Linked DNA regions of Homo sapiens: region 1 is linked to region 2. The links are contacts of gene promoters, found by promoter capture Hi-C in human tissues and cell types (Jung and others, 2019). All regions are on one chromosome and are shown on one strand. The core of a region is centred on a gene start or on the middle of the fragment in contact, and the rest is flanking DNA. Distances in the headings are between cores, read along the strand shown. Region 1 overlaps HSDL2 (hydroxysteroid dehydrogenase like 2). Region 2 holds the start of SLC31A2 (solute carrier family 31 member 2).

Region 1 (6,439 bases), core at 2,303-4,802, 720 kb before region 2:
GAAAAAATAAAAATAATTAAGTTTCTGTATTGCACATATTCTTCTTAGCTGTGTGAGCTGCAGTAGCTGTCTGTACCTAGCTTCCCCTTATATAAAATTAGGTATTATAAATAACCTCTAAAGCCCTTTGTTGCATATTTTTCAAACTTTTAATTATGAAAAAAGTCAAACATATGTACAAACATGTATACAAGTAGGGAGAGTAGTACATCACGTACTATTCCGCTTCAGCGATTTCACCACATGGCCAATCTAGTTTTACCAGCCCTCACATCTCCATCTCCCTTTAACTCCACTTCTAACCTCACCAGATTATTATTATATTATTAATTAATTAATTAATTGATTAATTATTTTTTCGAGGCAGAGTCTCACTCTGTCACCCAGGCTGGAGTGCAGTGGCACGATCTCAGCCCACTGCAGCCTCCACCTCCCAGGTTTAAGTGATTCTCCTGCCCCAGCCTCCCGAGTAGCTGGGATTATAGGCGCCCACCGCTGTGCCCGGCTAATTTTTGTATCTTTAGTAGAGAGGGTGTTTTGCCATGTTGGCCAGGCTGGTCTCGGACTCCTGACCTCAAGTGATCCACCCGCCTCGGCCTCCCAAAGTGCTGGGATTACAGGCCTGAGCCAATGCGCCTGGCCCTCGCCACATTATTTTTAAGCAGATCTCAATCATAGCATCATTTCATCTGTACATACTTCAATATGTATTTTTAAATGATTCGGTCTCTTTAAAAAGACAAAATTATTATCATAGCTAACAAACATACCTTAATATCATCTAATATCTAGTCAGTGTTCAAATTCCCTCAAGTGTCTCATAAATGTTTTCTTTGCAGTTGGTTTATTTACATCAGGATCTAAATTGTTCCATACATTGCATTTGTTTGATAAGTCTCAAGTGTTTTTAATCTAAAGCAGTTACACTCATTTTTTTTCTTGCCACTTATTTCTTGAAAAACCAGGTCGTTTATCTTATAGGAGTTCTGTCATTCCAGATTTTCCTGATTCTCCCAGTCGTATCATTTAACATCTTTCTATATCCTGTAAGGACCCTTATATTAGTATATTGTTTATTCCCATTCTTCTTTCTTCTGGCATTATTTTATTTATTCATTCATCATCCAACAACTATTGATTGGACAGTTATCACGCAGCAGACATGGGTATTGGGGATACTTCTTTGGCCTTTTTACCTAGTGTATGTCTAGGTTGGTAGAAGTTAGGTTTTAAAAGCATATTTAATCCAGCATTTATGCAAAGTATTATTAAAGCCCTGGTGGTACTCTTGAACTGAACTGCCGCATATAGCTGTGTGGAACATATCCAGAGTTGCTTCCTATCTGCTATGTACTGGATAAAGGGAGTTCCCCGGCTCCAAGCAGTACTGAAGATTCTGTGGCCTGTGGTGTAGACGATGGGAAACAAAGGACTATGGGTGAGAATTTACTGAGTACTGGGGCATGCTGCTGAGGTAACTCTTAGGAATATTTGACAGTTGCAGCCAGCTTTCCAATCACCATCTTTCTTTTTCTTCTAAGTAGTCCAGGAATCAGTTTGGTTAAATTCCTTTCTTCTGCAATTTGACCAAGACTCCTTTCTTCCCTGGTCCTCACTGTGGGACCAAAACCATGTTTTATTGCTTCTTTGTTTCCTTTATGTTTCTGTAGCAGACAATTCTTTTAAGATTTTCTGAAGAGTGTTGTTTTTTGCAGTGGGGAAAAAGATGAGAGTGAAAAAGGCACTTCTTCAATATTTCTCAAACTATATGTCAAGACTCGTTGGTGAGGCATGAAATCAATTTAGTGGATTGTGAAATTGATTTAGTGAGTAGCAGCCAGAGTTGTTTTGTTGTTGTTTTGTTTTATTTCTAGTGGAATCGAATAGAAAATATTAGAGTGGATTGCATGGAGGAAGGGTCAGTATTGTTTCATAAGCTTTTGTTTCATATATGAAAATGTTACTTATTATGGGTCACAGCCAAAAAACTTAAAAGCTTACACTTTATGGTGCCTCTCTTTTTCAACTTCTTTGCCTTTTCTCACCCTTTCTCAATTACCCTTCCTCACATCACTGTTGTCATTAAAGTTGATACAGAGAGTTAGGAAGTTAAAAAGGGAGGTCTCTGAGGTAACAAAGTTCTAACATATTATTTTCCCTCTTTGTACCTCCCTTATGTTACTTGTCACTTTCTTTTTTGATTTTTGAGACAGTCTTGCTCTGTTGCCCAGGCTGGAGTGCAGTGGTGCGATCTTGGCTCACTGCAACCTCTGCCTCCCAGGTTCAAGCGATTCTCAGGCCACAGCCTCCCAAGTAGCTGGGATTTCAGGCGCAGGCCACCATGCCCAGCTAATTTTTGTATTTTTAGTAGAGATGGGGTTTCACCATGTTGGCCAGGCTAATCTTGAACTCCTGACCTTAGGAGATCTGCCTGCCTTAGCCTCCAAAGGTGCGGGGATTACAGGCATGAGCCACTGTGCCCAGCTGACTTCTCACTTTACATTCATTCATTTTCCAAACATTCATTCTTACATGCCAGGCACAGTTCTCTGCACTATTCAGTTGTTATGCATTTGACAGATAATTTATTAACTATCTACTCGGTGCAAGGCAACATGGGTACTAAGATGAATGTGACACAATCCTTACCCTCAAGGAGTTTACCATTTAGTGTGGGAGATTTAAGAGTTTGTTACCACCATTTGTACTTTGTCCTCCCCTCTGCCCTTTCCTCTACTTCCCTAACCTGTAGGTCTTTGGGATCCTGGGGTAACAAAGTCAGAAAAAGCCTTCTTTGACTCTTAAGAATTTTAAATTTTATTCATACAATAAACATTCATCGGACACTTATTTTATGCCAAGCTGTGCTCTGTTTGCTGAAGATACATCAGAGAACAAAAGAGATATCAATCGCTGTCCTTATGGAACTTATAGTCTAATTGGGAGAGATACAATAGACAACATGATGAATGGCAAAGTATATAGTATGCTAAAGGTAATATGCTATGAAAAACAGAACAAAGGAAGGGGGATTGGAGTCTCAGCCATTGAGGAAGGAAGGTGGCAATTTAAAATAGAGTAGAAAGGTTTGGCATTAGGCCAGGAGTGTTGGCTCCTGCTTGTAATCCCAACACTTTGGGAGGTCAAAGCAGGCCGATCGCTGGAGCCCAGGAGTTCGAGACCAGCCTGAGCAACATGGCAGAACTCCATATCTACAAAAAGTAGCAGGGTGTGGTGGTGTGCGCCTGTCGTCCCAACTACTCAGGGGGCTGAGGCAGGAGGATCACCTGAGCCTTAGGAGTTCAAGGCTGCAGTGAGCCGTGATCATACCACTGCACTCCAGCCTGGGCAACAGAGTTAAACCCTATCTCAAAAAAAAAAAAAGAAAGAAAAGAGATGTTTGGCCTTTCTGAGAGTGCCAAGTCCTAACCGTCAGACCACCAGGGAAGGTAGGTTTGGCCTTTCTGAGAAGGTGACGTTTGAGCATAGACTTTGACATTTGAGCATACCGTTAGTCTTGGGGGTAATACAGTTAGCCAAAGGTTATCTGAGGGAAAACATGCAAGGCAGAGGAAGCAGCAGTGGATAGGTCCTGTGGACTAGTATGGCTGGCATGATGCAAGAGCAGGGAGAAGACCAGTGTCGCCAGAGTGAGGGAAGAGGAGTAGAAAATGAGACGATGTCCATAAGGAAATGGGGGTCAGATGTTATAGGCCCTTGCCAAGACTTGGTCTTAGATTACTCTGGGTGAAATGAGGAGCTGTTTCAGGTTTTCAAGCAGAGAAGGGACCTGATCAAACCTAAATGTTTAAAAAACCTCTCTGGCTGTTCTGATGAGCCTAGATTCTTGAGGGGCAAAGGGGGGAACAGTTAGGAGGCTATTGCAGGAACTGAGGCACAGATTTTGGTGGCTGTGACCAGGATGACAGCAGTAAAGGTGGTGGACAGTGGCCAGATTCTGATATATTTTCAAGGTAGAACCAACAGTATCTGCTGATGGATTGCCTTTGGGATGTGAGAGAAAGAGTCAACAGTGACTCCAAGATTTCTGGAAAATAGCCTGGTGCGGTGGCTCGCATCTGTAATCCCAGCACTTTGGGGAGGCCCAGGTGGGTGAATCACCTGAGGTCAAGAGTTCGAGACCAGCCTGGCCAACATGGTGAAACCCCATCTGTACTAAAAACAAAAAATTAGCCTGGCATGGTGACGCGTGCCTGTAGTCCCATCCACTCAGGAGGCTGAGGCAGAAGAATTGCTTGAACCCGGGAGGTGGAGGTTACAGTGAGCCGAGATCACGCCAGTGCACTCCAGCCTGGGTGACAGAGTGAGATTCCAACTCAAAAAAAAAAAAAAAAAAAAATTTAAAAAAAATAAAGATTTCTGGCTTGAGTTACTAGAACAGTGGAGTCGCCAGGAACTGAGATGGAGAAAGCTGCAGATAGAGCAGATGGAGGGCAAGCTTAGGAATTGTGTGGGGTGTTGTGTTTGAACATCCAAGTGGGGACAGTCATTAGGCAGCAGGCCTGGTGAATGAGGGTCAGGAGAGCGGTCCAGGTTGGAGATAAAAAAATCTGTGGGTTATCAGCATATAGAACATATAAAAAGCCACAAAACTACATGATACCATCTAGGCAGTGAGTAGAAGAGAAAGGACTATTGTCCATTTCAACATTGAAAGGTTGGGAAGAAGAGGAAGACCCACATAGGAGAGTAAGGTAGGAAGATGAAAGGAAGATGAAAGAGGAGATGAAAGCCGACTGAAGAAGGAGCTTGGGGAGTGATACAGTTTGGATGTTGTCTCCACCCAAATCTCATGTCAAAATGTCACCCCCAGTGTTGGAGGTGGGGTCTGGTGGGAGGTGATTGGATCATGGGGGCAGCTTTCTCCTGAACGGTTTAGCACCATCCTCCTTGGTACTGCCCTCACCATAGTGAGTGAGTTCTCATCTCGTTTTTAAAAGTGTGTAGCACACCACCTGGCTCTCTTGTTCCTGCTTTTGCCATGTGACGTGCCTGCTCCCTCTTCACCTTCCACCGTGAGTACAAGCTCCCCAAGGCCTCCCCAGAAGCCAAGTGATGTTGGAGCCATGCTTGTACAGCATGCAGAACTGTGAGCCAGTTAAACCTCTTTTATAAATTACCCAGTCTCAGGTATTTCTTTCTTTTTTTTTTTTTTTTTTGAGACGGAGTCTTGCTCTGTTGCCCAGGCTGGACTGGAGTGCAGTGGTGCGATCTCAGCTCACTGCAACCTCCGCCTCCCAGGTTCAAGCGATTCTCCTGCCTCAGCCTCTTGAGTAGCTGGGATTACAGGCGTGCGCCACCACACCTGGCTAATTTTTTTGTATTATTAGTAGTGACGGGGTTTCACCATGTTGACCAGTCTGGTCTTGAACTCCTGACCTCAGGTGATCCACCCACCTAGGCCTCCCAAAGTGCTGGGATTACAGGTGTGAGCCACTGTGCCGAGCCTAGGTATTTCTTTATAGTAATGCGAGAACAGACTAATACAGGGAGTGATCAATTGTGTCAGATTATGCTGATAGTTCTTACAAAATGGGACTGATCGTCAGGTTTAGTAGTCTGTACATCCCCTTCACATCACTTACACCGTTTGTAATTATTAATTTATAATTATGGTTGTTCAGTGTCTTCTTTGCTAGAATGAAAACTTCTTGAGGATAGGGACAGTGTTTGCTTTGTTTGTTTTATTATAGTCATTGTAGACATTCAATAAATATTTGATGAGTGAGTAAATGAGTGAATGAATGTGCAATATGATTACCTTCTGCCTAGCTCCAAAATATATTCTGGACAAAGCTTATATAATAGGCAGAATGTTCTGTATCAGGGAATATAGAGGGCATTATCTGGTCCAGCAGGAAAAATCAGCTCATTGCTGAGATCTTTGCTTTAGCTTCAAGATATTCATTTTAGAAGGTTTACTAGACATCTTGGAGCCAGTGATGTTATTTGGTCCTAGACTTGATGACACACTAAATCCAATTTACAGTCATGTTCCTTGTGGTGCATGGTATGATGAATTATGTACTGGATGTTGTGTTTTGTTTTTGTTTTTTGAGACAGAATCTCTGTCACCCAGGCTGGAATGCAGTGGCGCCATCTCGGCTCACTGAAACCTGTGCCTCCTGAGTTCAAGTGATTATCCTGCCTCAGCCTCCTGAGTAGCTGGGACTACAGGCATGCACCACCACACCTGGCTAATTTTTGTATTTTTTTTTTTAGTAGAGACAGGGGTTTCACCACATTGGCGAGGGTGCTCTAGAACTCCTGACCTCAAGTGATCCACCCACCTCAGCCTCCCAAAGTGCTGGGATTACAGGTGTGATCCACCGTGCCTGGCCTACAGGGTGCTTTTGAGACATAGTAGCTCAGGATAAAGGATCAGAGCAGTAGATTTTCAAAAGTAGGTAAACAATTG
Region 2 (6,088 bases), core at 1-2,500:
AGATGGCTCACGTCTGTAATCCCAGCATCCCAGCACTTTGGGAGGCCGAGGCGGGCAGATTACGAGGTCAGGATTTCAAGACCAGCCTGACCAATATGGTGAAACCCCGTCTCTACTAACAATACAAAAATTAACCAGGCATGGTGGTGCGCGCCTGTAGTCCCAGCTACTCGGGAGCCTGAGGCAGGAGAATTGCTTGAACACGGGAGATGGAGGTTGCAGTGAGCCAAGATCGCGCCACTGCACTACAGCCTGGGCGACAGAGCGAGACTCTGTTTCAAAGAAAAGAAAAAAAGCTGTGTGACCCTGAGGATTCTACCATTTACTGAACAAGCTCCCACTGCCAGGTTACATGATAATTTAACATGTATGTTTTCATTTAATCCCTATGACATAGATTTTATTATTATTTTCATTTTACTGACCAGAAAACTGAGGTTCAGAGATGTAAGCTATTTGCCTACGGTCCCAAAGCCAATAGTTGATGCGTATGGATGTGAACTGAGGTTAGCTCCAGGCTCAAGGTCTCTGCTAATACTGTCCTTAGTAAGGTTTCTCTGAAGAGCCTCTTTACTCATAGGCTGATTAGCAAAGGGTTCCTAAATATGCTTAAGAATCAATAACCATTAAAAATCCCTCACCCTACAAGAAACTCCCCATCAAAAAACTGGATCAGTGAAATGAACAGGCAATACACAGAAATGGAAGTACCCGTAAGAAAAATAGTTTACTACCCTAGTAATCAAAGAAAAACAAAATTACACGGGTGTATTCCTTTTGGCTTATCAGATTGGAAAATATTTTTCTAAAAAGAAAAATGTAATTATCTTGTAATGACTACACTAAAAATCTAGGGCATAATTGACTTAATTTACTCCAAATGTGTTGCTATTGCGTCCATAGCACGGACTTGCCCATTTCAACTCAATATATGTTACGCTTGGGGTAGTTTATTACAATGAGCAATAAACATTCTCATAATCGCCAAGACAAGCCAAGTGCAAAACAGGAAGGGCGAAGACAGAGGGCAGCAGGTGGTCCCTCTCGCTCGCGACTCCGGGAACGCCAAGCCTCAGCCCTTGGGAACCTGGGGCGAGGCGCCTGGGTCTCGGCCAGGGGGCGCGCCCGAGGACGCCGAAGTAGGGCGCGTGTGGGGACCACAACTCCCAGGCGCCCGCGCGCCGCCTCGCCCGGACCACGTGATCCGTGCGGCCAGGGTAGCTATCGCGGCGGCGGCGGCGGCGGCGGTTGAACTGACTCGGAGCGAGGAGACCCGAGCGAGCAGACGCGGCCCTGGCGCCCGCCCTGCGCACTCACCATGGCGGTAAGGGCCGGGCGCTACGGTGAAGAGGGTGGGCGGTTGGGGCGGGGTCTCCTGGAGCTGCCATCTCGGCACCCCGAATCCTCGCTGCCGCTGGCCCGGGGCTGGTGAAGGGTGTGTTGGCAGCATTGCCAACAGCTGGAACAGGGTTGGGGGACGCGGCAGGTATAGGTTGCGGTGGCTCTGTGGTTTTCCTCTTTATTTGTCCCTCCTGCTGGGAGGCAGTCCGGCTAGGCGAGCAGTTACCGAGCGCCCGCGGTGGCGCGGCTTGAGAGTGGGGGCGCGGTGGCTGAAGACAGCTGGGTCCGGGGCCCCCGGCCCCGGACCTCTGGCCGGCGCCCCAGGGCGGAGAGCAGCGCCTTGGGAGATTCCAGGAAGGCTTCCACGAAAGGGAAACCCCCGGCGCATTTCAGCCCGCAGCCCCGCGCGCACACCGAGCGCACATCCCCGGCCCTGCTCTTGTCAAGTTTGTAGCCTGATTCTTCGGGGAATAAAACAGAACCAGCTACTTTCCAGCTTCCCTACACTTTCAGTCAGAAAACAGCGTTTCAGACAAGCTGTTTTTCTTGGTAGGGTTCACCTGGGCTGGAGAGAACGACAGCTTGCAAGACTCGTTCGTCTTTGAAGAAGTCATATCATTTTCTTCATCCCATGAAGAATGTCATAGAATTTAAGATACAGGAAGCTCAGCCTGGGCAACATAGCTAGACCCCGTCTCTACAAAAATTAGCCACAAGTGGTGGCAGGCGCCTGTAATCCCAGCTACTCGGAGGCTGAGGCAGGATGAGGAGGATTGCTTGAGCCCAGAAGTTCCAGGCTGCAGTGAGCCATGACCTTCGGCCTGGGCAACAGAACAAGACGTCCTCAAACAAACAAAACAAAAAAAAAAAGATATAGGAAGTGTATGTAGGCCATTTAGTGAAATGATCAGCCGTCCTTTAAAAAGGGAAATAGATGGAAAGCACTTGCAAAAGTTCCCCAGCCAGTCAGCCTAGCAACTGGGACCTTCATCTCCTTCCCAACCCTTGTTTACAAATAAGGAAGCTTTTCTCAAAGTGTAAGTAACCCCAAATGAAGAAATATAGAAGAAAACAAGTTCCAGGGATTGCTCCCTCCTTCACCACAGCCCCACCCTGAAAAAAGCACAAATCAGTTAAACTTTCAGAGGCCAAGATTCATCCCAAGTAGGAAAACAAGATTGGGGCCCTGCCCCTTGCCTATCTGACCACAAAGCCCTTTAATTGAAAACTGTAGCCCAGATCGCTTCTCTCAAGTCAGGGTGTGCTGACTTCCATCTTTTCCTCTAGCAAAAAGGCAAAAGTAGAAAGGGTTGAGTGACAGGTGAGTCTTCGTCCCTCTGGGGCTTCGGACTCCGTGGGTGTTTCCAGCTCTGAACAAACCATACAGTTCATCTTCCCAGCTATCTCCTGCTTCTCTGGCTTCAGAACCATCCTAGCCAACTGCTCTCTGGCCAGGGCAGGTGTCTCTCAGGCGGCTTGGTCCCCAGCACCCCCAGGGAGCCTCCACTGTGCCTCCCTTTCTCTGACCTACAACCTGTTGTAATTATTTGCTCACTTAAATGTCCCCCCTCATAGACAGGTAGCTCCCTAAGGGCCAAAGACTTGTCCCATTCATCTCTGTATCGCCAGGGTCTGCACAGACCTAGCACAACAAAAAGAAATCTTTCAAATTACTCTTACTGTTCTGTGGGTGTTCAGGTCTATGGCAAAACATGTCTGGGCTGTTTTGGGCTCCTAAGATAACTGGCCCAGGCCCAAGGATGATAGAAGGAAACCAGTTATGGCAACTCCCTGACTGATTAATTAGCCACTAGGGACATTCCATTCATACCATCTGCTTTACCAAATGGACTCAGAGAAGGGGTGATGGGTGTCACCCCTACCTCTACCTGGCAGAGATGGTGCTAGAGGCTTCTGCTGAGGATGAGGCCATCTCCGGTGTAAATGGAGTTTCACAGTATTGTTTGTACCTGTTTGGTTTTGTATATCAATCTTGCGTAAACATTTTGCTGTGTCAAAATGTTTTTTTTTTTTTTGAAAGCCTAACAGGAGAGATCTCTGAGTAGTAAGACTCAAAATGATTTTTTACTTTCTTTTCGGTACTGTGTCAGCTTTTTACATTGAGCTAGTGCCATTGGGGGTGGGGGGTAAAAGCTATTCTTATTTTTAAACTCTTCAACATTTTTTAAAGTCTTCAACATGATCTTTATCATGTTGTGATGTGACCGCCTAGATTTCCATTTTGAAGCTCTCATATAATTTACTTGACCAGTCCCTACTGGTTGACAGGAGACCATCATGGTTCCTATGATTTCTCAAAGTGTGACCCCCAACAAACACCTGTCCTAGAAACACCTGTCCCAGAAACACCCAGTACACTAAGGTTTGAGAACCAGTACAGGCTTTCCAGAAAACTCTCTGGCTCTGGGTACCTGATTGCCGAGTGACCATGGGGAGATAAGTGGGCTTTTATGTACCTTCCTTGTTAAAGAGGTTAATAATAGTAGGCACCTGCGGAGATGTCACAGGGAGTGACACATAATAAATGGAAGGTGAACGTGGTACAGGCACATGCAGTCCCTCAGAAGACACAGAGCTGTGTGGCTGTTCTGTCCAATCAGATGCTTTCACATTTCTTTCTCTGTCCTGCAGCTCCACGGTCTCCAGTGAGCCCAGTCCCTGGGTAGGCGCAGGCAGGGGTTGGTGACACAAGTCAGACCCCTTTTGGCACTGAAAGGCATGTTAGCTGAGTGTAGGGAGTAGAACAGCCAGGTTAGTCCCAGGTCTCTACCAAACCCCAGGCTGCAGCGTCCAAATCTGAGAGATGCATAGATGTGGTGCCCCATCCAACCCGGAAACAGAGGCACACTCACTGTTATTGTTGTTGTTTTTGAGACAGAGTCTTACTCTATTACTCAGGCTGGAGTGCAGTGGCATGATCTTGGCTCACTGCAACCTCCACCTCCCGGGCTCAAGTGATCCTCCCACCTCAGCACCTCCCAAGTAGCTGGGACTACAGGCACATGCCACCACACCCAACTAATTTTTGTATTTTTTGTAGAGACAGGGTTTTGCCATGTTGCCCAGGCTAGCACTTTTTTCTTTTACAAGGTTTCAGGAAGAGTAGATAGAGTTCAAGATGGGAGCCTGTGAAAGTGAGGCCAAACCAAGGGAAAGGGTTCCTAGAGTCCTGTCCTCATCTTACAGACGAGGAGACTGGGTCCACAGGGGGCTTTCTGCGTGTCAGCAGCTCAAGGCCACGCAGCTGGTTCCTGGCAGAGCTGGGAGGGAGATCCAGGCAGTGCAGCTTTAGAGACCGTGCCCCTAACCACTAGCCTTGCTGCCTCTGTTCAAACTGCAACAAAGTGAACTGAGCCTCAGAATCTCCTGAAGGGGGCTGGTTAAAATCTATGTCTTCCCTGTCTCCTGTGGCTCTGACCCTGGACTCTGATTTAGGGGCCTGAGGAGGCCCAGGAATCTGTACTTTTAATAAGGCCCTGGAGTCTAAGCAGCTGCTGCTGTCCCTCTACACTAAGCCGCTTGCCAGTGTGGAGCTCATGATTGGCCTGTGGTTTCCCAGTGATTCACCCGGGACTGACTCTGCCTCTGTGGATCCGGCTATAACAGCATCGTCATCCACACCTGTGATCCGCTCCAGTGTCCTCCCTCCCACCCTATCCTCTTTGCCTTTTCATCCTGTTGTCCGCTGTTGTCCCTGGGCTCTGGTCTTACTGTCCCATCCCCAGACTGGTCCTTGTTTGTTTCCTTTATTTAAGGTGCACTCTTCATCTTTCTCAGGAAATATGGGCCAGCTATTGGCTGAACATCCTTCGGGGGCTAAGCATGACTATCCTAATTGCACAGAGGCTTTTTCTCATACATTCCTTCCTCTCCCCAATTTCTTCCCATATTTTGTTCCAAAGTGGCCATATCAGTTTCTTCTGCTGTTTGCATATCTTCCTGAAATGTTAAAACAACCGAACGACAGCACAGCCCTCATCTCTGTCTAGTATTGCACAAGAAAGTGGGCTGTTCTCTGTGTTGTAGCATCTGTTTTCCTCTTGCCAAATGAGGGCCTGGTAAGAAGACCCAGGATCCAGTCCTGATGCTGCCACCAACTCACAGTGTGACCCTGGGCATGTCACAGCTGCCCCTTGGACTTCCAGTGCTGCCCTGAGAAGCTGCATTGAGAGCAGTTAGGAGCACAGAATCTGAAACCAGCCCACCCAGGCAAAATTCTAGCTAGCAACTTGGCAAGTTACTTAAACTCTGTCTGCCTTAGTAGTCTCATCTATGAAATGGAGCTAAGAATAATAATTCCCCTCTTGAAATTGAGTGAGTTAAGACATATAACATTTTTAGAAGAGTGCCTGGCACAGAATAATCAGTGTCATTTCCCTCCCAGCATGAAAAAAGAGGGTTGCTCTAAATTAGCACTTCCTAGAGGATAGTCTATGAGATTCTTTCCCACAGGGCACTCAGCAAGAGAAAAAGGGGAGGAGAGAGTTCTGGGTACAGGCTTCTGGCAGTGCAGAAAGCTATTAAACCTTATTTTGTCTAATTCCAGTCTCTCTCAAACTCCCTTGACCATAGAATCCATTTTTCCCAGTACCTCCTAGCATCCTGTACTTCTCCCATGGAACACTTCTGAGAAACACCCCTCCAGCTTTGACATGTATGGGAAAAAAAGGCACTGGGGTTATTGAGCCCTTACTGTGTGTCACTTTGTGTGGATGGCTTTGCAGAG

The links. Contacts are between HindIII fragments. The study calls those that stand out against the background at their distance.
Region 1: a fragment that was not itself captured here is called in contact with the fragment with the promoter of SLC31A2 in region 2 in 2 of the 25 tissues and cell types used here (adrenal gland and heart right ventricle).

The regions. Positions count from the first base shown.
Region 1 is chr9:112,426,713-112,433,151 of GRCh38, forward strand. The region is part of intron 6 of HSDL2 (hydroxysteroid dehydrogenase like 2); the gene reads left to right. Among named protein-coding and RNA genes, the nearest start is that of HSDL2, 50 kb to the left of the region's middle. The HindIII fragment of the contact is 3,172 bases long and covers 1,967-5,138 here.
Region 2 is chr9:113,149,757-113,155,844 of GRCh38, forward strand. It overlaps SLC31A2 (solute carrier family 31 member 2), which reads left to right and starts at 1,251. Exons shown (of 4, transcript NM_001860.3): 1 at 1,251-1,324. The coding sequence starts at 1,319. The HindIII fragment of the contact is 13,784 bases long and covers 1-6,088 here.